3 separate regions of the Homo sapiens genome follow, and regions 2 and 3 are each linked to region 1. Evidence: promoter capture Hi-C in 16 types of primary human blood cells and fetal thymus (Javierre and others, 2016). All regions are on one chromosome and are shown on one strand. Each heading gives the region's core, a stretch centred on a gene start or on the middle of the fragment in contact. The rest is flanking DNA. Distances are from core to core; before and after follow the strand shown.

Evidence for each region. Contacts are between HindIII fragments. The CHiCAGO score rates a contact against its expected background, and 5 or more counts as called.
Region 2: a contact is called between a fragment that was not itself captured here and the fragment with the promoter of SLC38A8 in region 1, in 3 of 17 cell types (naive CD4 T cells, M2 macrophages and M1 macrophages). The highest score is 5.6, in naive CD4 T cells.
Region 3: a contact is called between a fragment that was not itself captured here and the fragment with the promoter of SLC38A8 in region 1, in 2 of 17 cell types (M2 macrophages and M1 macrophages). The highest score is 7.1, in M2 macrophages.

Annotation. Positions count from the first base shown.
Region 1 is chr16:84,041,362-84,045,907 of GRCh38, forward strand. SLC38A8 (solute carrier family 38 member 8) reads right to left here and starts at 1,434. Exons shown (of 11, transcript NM_001080442.3): 1 at 1,190-1,434; 2 at 608-798. The coding sequence starts at 796. RefSeq lists enhancers at 188-892, 893-1,596, 1,597-2,301, 2,302-3,005, 3,993-4,546. The HindIII fragment of the contact is 8,642 bases long and covers 1-3,078 here.
Region 2 is chr16:84,443,872-84,448,760 of GRCh38, forward strand. ATP2C2 (ATPase secretory pathway Ca2+ transporting 2) reads left to right here. Exons shown (of 27, transcript NM_014861.4): 16 at 2,458-2,559; 17 at 4,662-4,818. Among named protein-coding and RNA genes, the nearest start is that of ATP2C2-AS1, 21 kb to the right of the region's middle. The HindIII fragment of the contact is 223 bases long and covers 3,528-3,750 here.
Region 3 is chr16:84,465,263-84,469,972 of GRCh38, forward strand. It overlaps ATP2C2-AS1 (ATP2C2 antisense RNA 1), which reads right to left and starts at 2,099. Exons shown (of 3, transcript NR_146503.1): 1 at 2,042-2,099. The HindIII fragment of the contact is 1,227 bases long and covers 738-1,964 here.

The sequences.
Region 1 (4,546 bases), core at 184-2,683:
AGGCTGGAGCGCACAGTCTCAGCTCACTGCAACCTCCGCCTCCCAGGTTCAAGCGATTCTCCTGACTCCACCTCCTGAGTAACTTGGATTACAGGCGCCCGCCACCACGCCCCGCTAATTTTTGTATTTCCAGTAGAGACAGGGTTTCACCATATGGGCCAGGCTGGTCTCAAACTCCTGACCTCAGGTGATCCGTCCACCTTGGCCTCCCAAAGGGCTGCGATTATAGGCACGAGCCACCGTGCCCGGCCCAGCTTTAGTTTTTGAGCTAAGACCAGCAGGCAAGAAAGAGCAGCTGGCCAGGCAGGGCGCCCAGAGAGGTTCCTTCCCAGGTGAAATGCCCACTTCACAGACAGAGCTGCGATGCCTGTAGCTCCATCCCGGAAGCTGTGTATCAGATGCCACCAGCGCCCACGGGGGATATTCTCATCCCAGGGCTACAGTGGGATTATCTTCTCCCCTCATTAGCTGAGCGGGATAGAAAATAAAACCCCGAAGCTATAGCTTACAGGACACGCAACTCCGCAGAAGCAATGCGAGGAACCCCACCCAGAAAAGCCAAAGCCACCTCGTACCCGTCCCCAGGACTCACTTCCCGGGGACTTACCAGCTCCACCAGGAAGGCAGGGACCACTCCGCCCGCTTTGGAGAAGGCCCAGGGGAAGTTGAGCAGGCCAGCTCCCAGCGCGGACTTCATGAGGATGAAGACAGCGCCCATCGAGGACAGAGTGGCAGCAGCCGTGGCAGGGTGAGGCTTTTCTGGAAGGCCCCTGCTTCCTGGGGTCTGTCCCTCCATGGCTAGAGGCGGCAGAGGGGTGGAGAGAAAGCACAGTCTTCACGCTTTCCTCCCTAAGTTCTCGATATCCTTATTTGTCTCCCCAACTCAGTGAGAGCTCCCTGAGCCGCTCCTGCCCGCTTCCTTGGCGTCAGCTCCCCCTTTCCAAAGGGTGCTGCATGCATCTGCCCACGACTTCTAGTCCCCCTTCGTCTCCCATTCCCTACCCACATTATTCTCACTCCTGCCCTCCCACTAGACCCCAAGGCAACCTCACCCCTTCCCCCTCCCTCTCTTCTCCCAAACCCCCAACCTTCCTCATCCCCATCAATCCTCTCTCCCCCCATTCCCATCCACTCCCTTTGCTTCCAGCCAAACTTCTGTACAAACAGACCCCCAGTTCCTGGTCCTTACCACCAAATCCAACTTTTAAGGTGCCGGACAGTCTTTGGCTGTTGGGGATGGGACTCGGGCTTACTCCAGGTGGCTCAGTTGCATTTCTTGGGGCCAGAGGGGTGGGAGAAGCAAGATTCGAGCTTGGCCAGGGGTGAGTGAGTCATTAACTAAAGGAGCCCTAGCGAGTATGTGTCAGGGTCAGGCCCCTCCACACCTAAGAGGACAGCAACAAGTGGTCAGGGCCATGGGTCCCAAGAATTTGCAGCTTTTGAGACTTCTGACCTGAGCAAGGAAGGCTTAAGACTCCCGCCTCTCCCCAGCCCCCTGCAGGCCCGGCCCCGGGGGTGGAGCTTTCTCAGCTGCCCTGGAGGGTGACAGGGAGCTCAGCTGGGAGCCACACGGGGCAGGGGAGCAGGCACCATGATCTCATGGCAGCTTCTGCAGCGCCTCCATCCTCACATACCTCTCCAAGGTCCCCAGCCCAACGGAGGGGGCGTGAAAAGTGCCCTGAGCCCAGCCTCCTCCTCTGCAGAACAGGCTCCACCGTCCGCAGGTGCTGCCTCCTAGGTGGTTTCCTTTACCTCCTCCACCCAACTCCAGCAGGTGCGTCTCAGAGCTAATCCCATGCACACGAGTCACCTGAGACGGGGCTTGTTGAACGCTTGGGGGAGGCGGCGGCTGCTGGTCCCTAGGCCACGCTTGAGTGATGACACATCTCTCCAAACTGATACGGGGTCAGCTAAGGGGACAGAATATCGGAGACGGCCCCATTCCGGAAAATGCTGGCACATGCAGCTCAGATCCGGAATTTGACTGTTTATTCCTGGAACCCAGGCTCCCTCTCACCCGCATTCTCGAACTCCAGTTTGCATCAGAATCCACTGGAAGGCTTGTTCAAACACAGAACACCAGGCCCCAGCCCCTGTTTCTGACTGAGTGTCTCCGGGGCGGGGTCTGGGCACCTGCCTTTCTAACGGGTTCCCAGGTGACTCCAATGCCGCTGGTTCGGCCCCTCGCTGAGAAGCACTGCTTTCAGTTAAATATCCTCAATGCCCAGAACCCCTCCCCCCGCTGCATCTAATCAGTCCTTATCTGTCCGACACCAGATCAGCCCCAAAGGCTTCTTTTTGATGTGGTTTCTAATGGTCTCAACCCCCGACTCCTGTTACCTCCTGATGAGCAGGCAGGTTCCAAACTCTGTGGCTCACACAATGGCTGCTCCATAAATGCCCAACCAGCAGAGTCAGTGGCTGGCTTCTCAGCAGGGGCAAGTGAAAGGGAGCCGGGATTGCAGTCCCGGAGCTCAAGGCTGGACAATGACCCGGATGACATTCACGCCACTGCTGCATAAATGTGCTGCTGAGAACCTAGCCTGGATGAGTTCACGCGGATTCCTGAGCGGGTGTCCCCACTGTTCCCCCCAACTCCCACCCCGCACCAAGCAGGAACTCGGCTCAGGCAGGTGGAGCACGTGGCTCAGAGCATCACAGCTGGCAAGCAACAAGGCTGGGATTCACCCTGAGTCAGGCTCCTTTCAGAGGCTGTAATGTCACACGGCCTCCTGCCCCACAAGGACTCTGACAGTGCCTGAATGAGTGTGTGAGAGAATGAATGAATGAATGAATGAATACACAAATGCCAGAAAAGAGAGGAAAGGAAACGTCGTTTGATTGTTCCCCTGTATTACGCTCCTGAGGCTGCCAACACAGACTCAGGGGCTTAGAACAATAGAAAGTTATTCTGTCATGGTCTTGAAGGTCAGAAGTTGGTCAAGGTATCAATGGGGACATGCTCCCTCTGGAGGCCATGGAGGGCGGATCCTTCCTGCCTCTTCCAGCTCCTGGGGGCCTAGGCACTCCCTGGCTTGTGACTGCATTGCTGCCGTCTCTGCCAGCATCATCTTCCCAAGCTTTCTCCTCTGTGTCTTCTCTTTTCAGAAAGGCCCACCCAGATAATCCAAGATGATCCCATCTCAAGATCGTTACTTATATCTGCAAAGACCCTTTTTCCAAATAACGTTAACAGTCACAGGTTCCAGGGCGTGGCATAAATCTCTCTACTGGGGGCCACCATTCAGCCCACTACACCCCTCACATCTGAGATCTGTTTGAGTTCTCATCAGTCATTCAACAAACACTGAGTGCCTACTGTATGCAGGCACTGGAGCTCAAAGGTGAAAGAGAAGGCTCCTCCAGAGAAGGGGACGGTCCCGTGGGGAGCTCAAGAAGAGACAAGCCACCCAAGCCCAATGGGAGGACCGGACTACGAGACCCAAGAATGGAGGTGAATCTGGAGGGGCTTCCTGGAGAAAGTGTGGGGGCTGAGGGGATATCTGTGCACCATTGGTGAAGGGCTGGGAGGATGTTCTGGGAAGTGGAGACTCCCAGTGGCAGGTGCATGAGCCAGTGCTCCCGGGAAGGGCCCCGGGGACTGGGGTTCCCTAGGATAGAGACCTAGGTCAGCGCTGAGCTGGGAAAAGGCTTAAACTCTTGTGTCCCACTCGCTGGAGGGTCACTAAACCATGTGGAGATGGCACTGGACACAGCAGGGAAGGAGGGGGCTGCGGGTGACACCGCAGGCAGGGCCCGTGCAGTACCCAGGCTGGGAGAGGGCGGGGACCACACGCAGTATTCACACAGCTCTCCGAGGCCTGCCAAAGAGGCCAAGTCATTCCCGCTTCCCCCCAAATCCAGCCTCCTGAGAAAGGAGATAAAGGGCCCTTCAGCAGCGGCTGGGGGCTTTGCAGTCCTTAATCTCCGCTCGGGGGCTGGGGGGACACTTCCCTGTCCCTGCCGGTGGGTCCCTCATTAGCGGCCCATTAACGTGCATGACTTAGAAATTGGCCATTGGGCTGTGAAATTCCAGGCAATGGGGAAAACCTCTTAATTCGGAGGGGCTTTGATATCCACTCTCTGCCGGCATCACAGGGCTGCGTGACCTTTCCCGAGCTGTGGAGGGGCGCCCTACTGGGCTGCATCTGCAGCCGGTGGGCGGGCGGGCAGGCGGGTGGGCGGCCACCCTCTGCTTAGTCGGCCCAGCCCACCCAGACCTGACACTGGCTCCAGTGCAGCAGGAGCACGAGGAGGCCACACGGAGGTGCCCGTGTGGATGCTGTCGGCCGTGGCCCACGCTGCACACGGCACCCTGCACAAGAGCGCCCAGCCTGGGGTGGCCTCTCCCCCGCTGTGCTGCGGGGACCCACCTCACCAAGGGAGCTCTTGAGGACCCCAGAGTCCGTGTCAGGTGACAGGCCTAGGAACTTTCACAACAAAGTGGCCTCTGATCGTTTCCCAGACCTTTCTGCTCATGTCCGTTAGAAAATTCTGGAGAGGCCCGGTGGCTCACACAGAGGCAGGTGGATCACCTGAGATCAGG
Region 2 (4,889 bases), core at 2,389-4,888, 400 kb after region 1:
AACATTGGAAAGTCATTACAGGCTGAGTGCAGTGGCTCAAATCCCAGCACTTTAAGAGGCTAAGGCGGGAGGATCATTTGAGGCCAAGAGTTTGAGACCAGCCTGGGCAACATAGCGAAAACCCATCTCTACAAAAAATATAAAAATTAGCTGGGCATGGTGGTGCATGCCTGTGGTCCCAGCTACTCAGGAGGCTGAGGCAGGAGGATCCCTTGAGCCCAGGAGTCTGAGGCTGCAATGAGCTATGATCACACCACTGCACTCCAGTCTAGATGAGAGAGATCCTGCCTCAAAAAAAAAAAAAAAAAAAAAACAAAAAGATTGGGCACAGTGGCTCACACCTGTAATCGCAACACTTTGGGAGACCGAGGCAGGTGGATCACCTGAGGTCAGGAGTTCAAGACCAGCCTGGCCAACATGGTGAAACCTCATCTCTACTAAAAATATAAAAATTAGCTGGGCATGGTGGTGCACACCTGTAATCCCAGCTACTCGGGAGGCTGAGGCAGGAGAATTGCTTGAACCCAGGAGGCGGAGGTTACAGTGAGCCGAGATCGTACCATTGCACTCCAGCCTGGGTGACAGAGCAAGACTCCGTCTCAAAAAAACAAACAGAAATCATGACATCGTATTATTTTTCTTCCATTCACAGAAGAGAATTCTCTCTGCAATGTCTGTAATAGTGAATGGAGCTCATTTCCCGTTTTAAAATAGTGCTGAGTCTGCCCCATTCAACAACTCCTCGCCGCCCAGAAGGGAAGGTGCCGGCCTGACCGCCTGGCAGGAATGACACCCATGTGTCACCTTGCTTCCGCCACCAGCCGTCCCTGCAGCCTAGAGAGGAGAGAGGTTCCAGCACCCAGAAGAGATTTCCTTGATGTGTTATAATTTTCCTTTTTCCTGGGGCCTGGCTTAAGATTTTGGAATACAGAACAAACACTGGCTGGCATGTAGGAAGTGCTGCCTGTGTGACAGGCATGGGGCAAGCACTTTGTGGTTCTTACCTGTCTCACCTGCTCTAAATGGCACTGAGGCCAGGCCAGTGGTTCCCGGGCTTTTCTTCCATTATTGCTCCTGGATTAGGGTCTTGGGGTTACTGAAATAAAACACCACTGGCTGGTGATTTAGTGTAACCAAAACACACTGAAACACAGCTCTGTGGCCAGAAGTTGAAATCAAGGTGTGAGCAGGGCCAGGCTCCGTCTCCCAGTTTCTGGGTGTTACTGGCAGCCCCGGGCGTTCCTTGACTCGCAGACGCATCCCTGCCTTGGTCTCTCACACCAAGCTCTGTCTCTGTCACGAGGTGCTCCCCGCCACGCCTCTGCGCAGCGTTTTCCTCTTTTTTTTTTTTTTTTGAGACGGAGTCTCGCTCTGTTGCCCAGGCTGGAGTGCACTGGCTTGATCTCCGCTCACTGCAACCTCCGCCTCCCAGGTTCAAGCGATTCTCCTGCCTCAGCCTCCCAAGTAGCTGGGACTACAGGCGCCTGCCACCACGCCTGGCTAACTTTTTGTATTTTTAGTAGAGACAGGGTTTCACCATGTTAGTCAGGATGGTCTTGATCTCCTCACCCCGTGATCCACCCGCCTCGGCTGCCCAAAGTCCTGGGATTACAGGCATGAGCCACCATGCCCGGCCTTCCTCCTCTTATATCCAGTCATGTTGGCTTAGGGCCAACCCTAATAGCCTCAAATTGACGATATCTGCAAAGGCGCTATTCCAAATCAGGTCACATTCAGAGGTTCCGAGGTTAGGACTTCAACATATCTTTTGTGGGGTACAATTCAACCCCACTAAGGAGATGGTTTAGGCATTTCTTCCCTAATCACCCCACTCCCTCCCCATGAAATTTAATATGGTAGATACACTGTATTGTACGCATATCTGCACTTTCTACGTAAAAGGAGTAGTTTTTTGTGCCCCTGCTGCACCGCATTTTCACCCCCTGTGGGACAGTGGGATGCATGGGTCATGACTGGTTTACACCTGGGGAAACTGAGATTCTGAGTTGTCACATCACTGATCCAAAAGCCACCAAAGAGCAACAAAGGGCCAGGCTGGCAAGGACCCCAGGCTGTGGACGGGGGGCTGGCAAGGACCCCATGTTCTGGACGCAGGGCTGTCTCACTGACTCAGGGGGTTCCGTCTGAGAAATTGCTACACCTTCAAGTCTGAAACATTCCTCCCGGCAGAAACACTGCAGGTTTGTTTCTAAGCAGATTTCAGATAGAAGCTGTTGCAAAGACCGTCTTGTCTGCCCTTCAGCCAAGAGAAGAGACTTTTTTTTTTTTTTCTAGGTGGGACATTCCAAGAGAAATGGCCTTTTTTCTATGTGCTAAATGCTTGGATTTCTTATCTGCCAGAGGTGGTTTGAACAATGAATAATTTAAATGGACTGAGCTTTGTATAGAGATTGGCTTCGGATGACTCACTAAAAATGTGTCATTTTATTATGCTAGATGGACTTAAGTGATATTAAAAATTCATATATAAGAAAAAAAGAGATTCCATTCAGTTCAGAGCAGAAGTGGATGGCGGTGAAATGCAGTCTGAAGACTGAGGTGAGACCTTTCAATCTTCAACCTCTTCTCTCTTTCTGCCCGGGCCCCCACCCAGAGATAAAGCAAAATGCAGACTTCAAGGATAATTTGAAAGTTCCTGGCTGCTTCTGTGACGTTCCAAATACATGGAAAAACTTAATCACCATCATACCTTTGATTCTCTTGGGTCTGCTTCTGGCTTTTTGTTTAAAACAGAAGTTCTTAAAGCAGGGTCCCTGGAGTAGCAGCGGTTGTTACCACGCGAGACTTTATTAGAAATGCAGAATCTCAGGTTCCATGCCAGACCTCCTGAGTCGAAGGGTCCAGGGGTGGGACCCAGTAACCTTCATTTTCTGCAGATTCTGATGCAGGTGCAAATGTTGAGATCGACCAGCCTGTAATCCAGTGACTGAGGCCCTGCTGCTAACACCAGTCGCCAACTTGCCAGTCCTCTCTTTGCAGCCCTGTGCTAAGTTTTTTATACTTCTTAGCTCATCTCCCCGTCATACTGGGGAGCAAATCCTTCAGTACGGAAGGCGTGTCTGTGTGGTGCATCAGCGTGTGCACACGTGTTGTCCCTGGCTAGAGGAACACATACCAAGCTATGGCCACCCCGGGTGGACATTACAGCTGATTTTTAAAATTTTCTTTTCAGATTTGTTGTGGCTTTTCAGATTTTCCTTAAAAGCTATTTTTTAAAGTTTTTGTTGCCTTCTACCGTTTTCTCCACCCCTCCTCTTCCCTCCCACTCTTTCTAGAATCTATCATGTCTGCCCACGCAGACTGCTCAGCTCCCACTCAGGGCTGTGGGCAGCTCAGCCAGCTCATGCCAGGCCCTTCCTGTGCATGGATGGACACATGTACATTTCAGGGGCTTAGAAGGGATTATAGATTTTCAAAAAACTTTTAGACCTTTAAATCTTTTCCCTTGCAAGGCAATGGTAATATATTCTCATTGAAAAAGTATAGAAATATGACATAAAAATGAAAGCTTCTTTCATTCCACCCTTCTTCCCTCCCTCCCCACCACCCACCCAGAGGTAATTCTATTTTAAGTCTGGGATGGAGCATTGCAGATTTTAAATATGCAAACGACAACATCTGGATGGTATTTTCAAAACAAGGTCACTATTTATAGTGTGTGTAATTTGCTTTTTCCCCCTAAGATTTTCTTTTAATATTATGTCTTAGATGTCTGTGTTGGTTAATATAAGCTTGTTATATTAACATATTAATTATATAATATGTAATATATATTACATATATTACATATATTATTTAATATATATTATGTAATATATATTATAATTGTATAAGAATATATTAGTTATATATAATATATAATATACATATAAATAATATAATGTAATATAATACATATAAATAATATACAATACATATGTACTATAATTAATGTATTAACATCTGTAATTAATATTATATTTATTAATAACATTAATATGTTAATTACATATTAATAACATATATAATTAATATTATATTATCTTATAACAGTGTTACATTCACACTGTGCACCCACGTGAGCCAGGTATGTCCGGTATTGAGGCTAGGGGTACAGTGTGACTCTCACTGACCCAGGGCCTCCCCCCGTGGAGTTCATAGTCTACATGTTTGTCATGACAGAGCTTAAGAAAAACACAGGAAAAATGATCAGCTACTCATGTGGCTTCACTATTACAAGCCAAGTGCTGGGGGTGGGTACAAAATAGACTTGGTGCTGCCCTAGGGAGGCAACAGTCTAATGGAAATATTCCCAGTTAATCACACCCCCAAAGGCACAGTCCCAGCTGGGATGATACCTCCCGTGCATGAAACATACAAGACGCTCTGAGTGACCATAACAAGGGAACTGAAAAAAGAACAAGGGTAGTACAGGTTGAAGATTGGCCTTGTTCTTTCTCTGGACTGCAAAACGTTCCATGGATGGATTCTAGAACTTCGCGAACCTGTCCAGCACCTGTGAACAGCACCAGCCTATGATAAATAACTCCGCTGCAAAGATCCCCGTGTGTGTCTTTGTAACCTTGTGCAGAGTGGGGTGATGGTCAGTATGAACCAAGGCTTCCAGTGATAGTGGATTTCTTCCCTTTGTCTTTTCTAAGGATCAGGAAGACATTTACTTCATGAAAGGGGCCTTGGAAGAGGTGATCCGCTACTGCACCATGTACAACAACGGGGGCATCCCCCTGCCGCTGACGCCCCAGCAGAGGTCATTCTGCCTGCAGGAAGAGAAGAGGATGGGGTCGCTCGGTTTGCGGGGTCAGTGCCTGTGGTCCCGGCCCAGAGCTTTAAGCTTGCATGTAACATTGACTTTTAAGTGCATTCAAGCA
Region 3 (4,710 bases), core at 101-2,600, 420 kb after region 1:
GGGTGGTAACAGCTGGGTCAGACGAAGATAAGGAAGGTCAGAGTGGACCCCTGCCAGGGTTCCAGGCAGAGTCCAAAGTCCTCCATAGTAGGATTCACAGCCTGGGAAGAAGCCCCTCTCTGGCTACAACCTGTGACACCAGGGCCACAGGAGGAGATGCAGCGATGGGCCATTCCTAGTGAGACACAGACACAGGGCTGGCTGGAGAAGAAACCTTTTGAGCTGTGGGGCTGTCTTCCTAGAAGCTGCCAACCCCTGGAACCACTAAGAGGTCAAGGCTGAAGTGTGCCACTTCCACAGTCTGCTAAGGAGTGCCTCCCCCTGAGTCAGGGACAATTCTTGCTCTACTTTTCAGGATCCTTGGGCACACTGCTGGCCCGAGACATTTACTTCCCATTTAAAATTAAGTAATCAAAATACCAGGGTCGATTACTCTGAACTCTTGCTTATGTAAACTTTAGGGATAAAACTGTAGTAAGACACAAAATGCTAACAATAAAATATAAATTAGACTACATTAAAACTAAGACCTTCTTTTCATTAAGGACACAGTAGACTTGAACACCACCATTAAGCAACTTAGCTTGATTTACACTTGTAGAACACCCCATTCACGAGTAGCATAGAAACAGTCACCAAAATAAAGAGCAGAAATCAAACGAAAAAGCAAAAATAGAGGAAAATCAATCAAAACCTAGTTTTTCGAAGAGATCAATAAAACTATCAGTCTTGCAATAAGCTTATCAAAGAAAAAAGGGAAGAGAAATGACCAATGTCAGGAATGAAAAAGTATATCACCACAAACCCTTCAAGATATTCCAACAATAATAATAAATAATACTATGTACATCTTTATGTACCTAAATTCAATCAATTGGATGAAATAAACCAATTGCTTGAAAACCAAAAACTACCAAAACTCACTGAAGATTAAATAGATAAGCTGAAGTTGAAACCCTTCCAAAAAAGGCAGTTTCTGAAGCCAGATGATTTCACTGGTGAATTTTACTAAACTTGTAAAGAAATGGCAATTCGATACACTGAATTCCAAAAATAAAAGGGGACCGAGCACTTCTCATTTTATAAGGTCAACAATCACTCTGATACCAAAACTAGAGAAAAATACTAGAGACCAACATCCCTTATGAATATATGCACGAAAATCCTCAACAAAATATGAGGAAATCAGATCTAGCCAGGTACGAAGAATATAAGACACCAGGACGAAGTGGGGTTAATTGAGGAATGGAATTCAAGCATTCCAAAGTTCAACATTCAAAACCAATATAACTGAAAAGTTCAACATTCAAAAACCAATATAACTCACTATATTAATAGTCTGAAGAAGGAAAAACACATGGTTATATCAATTAATGCAGAAAAGGCATTTGATAAAATTCAATCTCCATTTGTAATAAAAACTCTCAAACTAGGAATTGAAGGAAACTTCTTCAACCTGATAAAGAACATCTACAAAAAACCTATAGCTAACATCATACTTAATGATGAAAAACTGAATTCTTTCCCCACAGGATAAGGTCCAAGGGTGACCAGCCTCACCACTCCTATTCAGCACAGTATTAGAAGTCCTAGCCAGTGTAATATGGCAAGAAAAGTTAAAAGGCATTAGCAAAGAGCCTGGAAAGGAGAAAATCACAGATAACGTAATTGTCCACACAGAAAATCCCAACAAATCTTTTTAAAAAAGAAAAACCCTCGTAGAATCAACGAGTTTAGTAAAGCCACAAGATACAAGGTTAACACACAAAAAGCAGTCGTATTTCTATATATTAGCAATGAACAACTGGAAACTGAAATTTAAAATTGAATACTATTTGTCTGTCTCAAAAAAAAGTATCAATTCTCCCGAGATTGTTGTATTAGGTTTAACACAATTACCATCAAAATCCCAGGGTTTTTTTGTTTTTGTTTTTTTTTAAGACACAGATAAACTTGTTCTAACAAGCTTGGTATGATATTGTTATCAGCAGACCTATTTCAATTTCACTGGTTTTTACATAGTATCTGATGTTAGGCAAACCTGAGTTTAAGGGCACAGTGCTCCAGGTGGCTGGCCAAGTCTGCCCAGGCCTTCTGATACTGACTGCAGGTCCAAGAGTTTCCCACAACCACCTTCAGGTTGGATGATTCGTTGATGAGGCACACAGAGCTCACTGACACCTGTCATGCTCACAGCCATGTCTATTACCAGGAAAAGATACAGATTAGAACAGCCCCAGGGCTGCAACTGCAGAGACTGGTCACCCTCTCCCTCTGAGCTCAACAGTTTCTGAGTCCTGAGTCTTTCTAGCCAATCACTGGGTCTGAGAGTGGTTTCCTGCCCCCCACAACACAAGTTCTATGAAATTGTATGACACACATCAATTCAGGTAACCACTGCTACAATGAGGAGGCAAAACTTCCATCGCCCCTGAAAAACTCCTCCTTACTTTTTATAGTAACACCCTCCTAATCCCAGCAACCTCTAATCCCTTCTTCATCACCATAATGTTGTTCCTTCAATACTGTTACATAAATGGAATCATGGTATAGAACCTTTTAAGACTGGCTTTTGTCACTAAGCATAATACCTGTAAGGTCCCTTCAAGTTGTTTTATGTGTGTTCTTCTTCATGGCTGACTAGTATTCCACTGCATGGATGTACCACAATTTCTTTATCCACTCACTCATGGAGTGACAGAAACTCCTGTACAATTTTTGGAAGTCTATATGAATCTAAAATTATTTCAAAGTGTGTAAGAAGATAAGATATACTCATAGGGCAAAAATACACCAGGTAAAGACAAACAACACACAAGACCAAGGTGACACAGTCTAATCAGACAAGATTAAAAGAAAGGCCAAAAGCATTAAAGGAGACCAAGAAGGAAATTTAACAAGATATAATCACCACTGAAAAATCCATAGGCCAGACTATGTACCAACACAACATTCAAATTTAAAGAGGAAACAGTATGGGAAATTCAGGCAAAGGATACAGAAAATTCATTATATTAACTTACCACATGAAAGGACACAAAACCTCAGTGATTCCAAAGAGTAGATCTAATATAGATGACTTCTTGGTCGGGCATGGTGGCTCAGACCTGTAATCCCAGAACTTTGGGAGGCCGAGGCGGTTGGATCACTTGAGGTAAGGAGTTTGAGACCAGCCTGGGCAACATAGCGAAACCCCATCTCTACTAAAAATACAAAAATTAGCTGGGCATGGTGGTGGGCGCCTGTAATCCCAGGCTACTCGGGAGGCTGAGGCAGGAGAATCGCTTGAACCTGGGAGGCAGAGGTAGCAGTGAGCTGAGATCACACCATGGCACTCCAGCCTGGGCAATGAAGTGAGGCTCTGTCTTAAAAAAATAATAATACAGATGACATCTCTAATCACTATGCAATCTAATTTAAAGACGAGTGACAGGACTAGGGGAAATTCTCTAGCACAGCAAAATTTAAAAACTCTTGGGTACAAGAGAAAATCAAAATGAAGGCCACAGAAAATCTAGAAGCTTATGATCAACACACACCTATCTATACAATACTGCAAAATAACTCAGGGCCCAAGAAAAAAGTAATAGCTTTATGTATTCATCTACTTCCATTATTTTTTATTTAGTAAAATAACTCAAAAAACTGAAAAAAAAAAACTGAAGAAAAGCAGGAATAATATAAAAGCAAAATTAGTAACTGAATCCAATCTAGGAAAATGAAAACACAAGAAAAGGAAAAAAAACATAACTACAAAAGAGTTTCAATACTTTGGGGTCAATATTACATAAAGTAATTTGAAGACTTCCAGCAGAGATTTAAAACAATCCAATGGTAAAAGAAATGGATAAGGTTGTCAAGAGTTAATCCCATCCTCACCTACATCATCAGAAGCAGGAATGCAGACCTGCAATATGCATTTTAAGAAGCTCTCTAGGCAAATCTGATGCATGCTCAAGCGGGGAGAACTACTGGATAAAAGAGGTCAGTAAGAGGCCTGGAACGGTGGTTCATGCCTGGAATCCCAGCACTTTGGGAGGCTGTGGTGGGTGGATTGCTTGAGCTCAGGGGTTTGAGACCAACCTGGGCAACATGGCGAAACCACCTCTACAAAAAACACGAAATTTAGCTGGGAGTGGTGGTGTGCATCTGTAGTCCCAGCTACTCGGGAGGCTGAGGTGGGAGGATTGCTTGACTCTGGAGGCAGAGGCTGAAATGAGTTGAGGTCATGTCACTGCATTCCAGCCTGGATAATAGAGCAAGACCCTGTCTCAAAAAAAAAAAACAAACAAAAAAAAAAACCGGCACGGTGTCTCACGCCTGTAATCCTGGCACTTTGGGAGGTTGAGGTGGGTAGATCACAAGGTCAGGAGATTGAGACCATCCTGGCCAACATGGTGAAACCTCATCTCTACTAAAATACAAAACATCAGCCAGGCATGGTGGTTGCACACCTGTAGTCCCAGCCACTCGGAAGGCTGAGGCAGGAGAACTGCTTGAACCCAGGACGCGGAGATTGCAGTGAGCCAAGATCACGCTACTGCACTCCAGCCTGGATGACAGAGCAAGATTCCATCTCAAAAAGAAAAAAAAAAAAAAAAGAATTCAGTAAGGTAACTGGGAATAAAAACTACAAAAATCAAGAGCTTCCTATGTTAAAATAACCATCACTTAGGAAAAAATGTCCACTGACAGTCCCAGAAATGACAA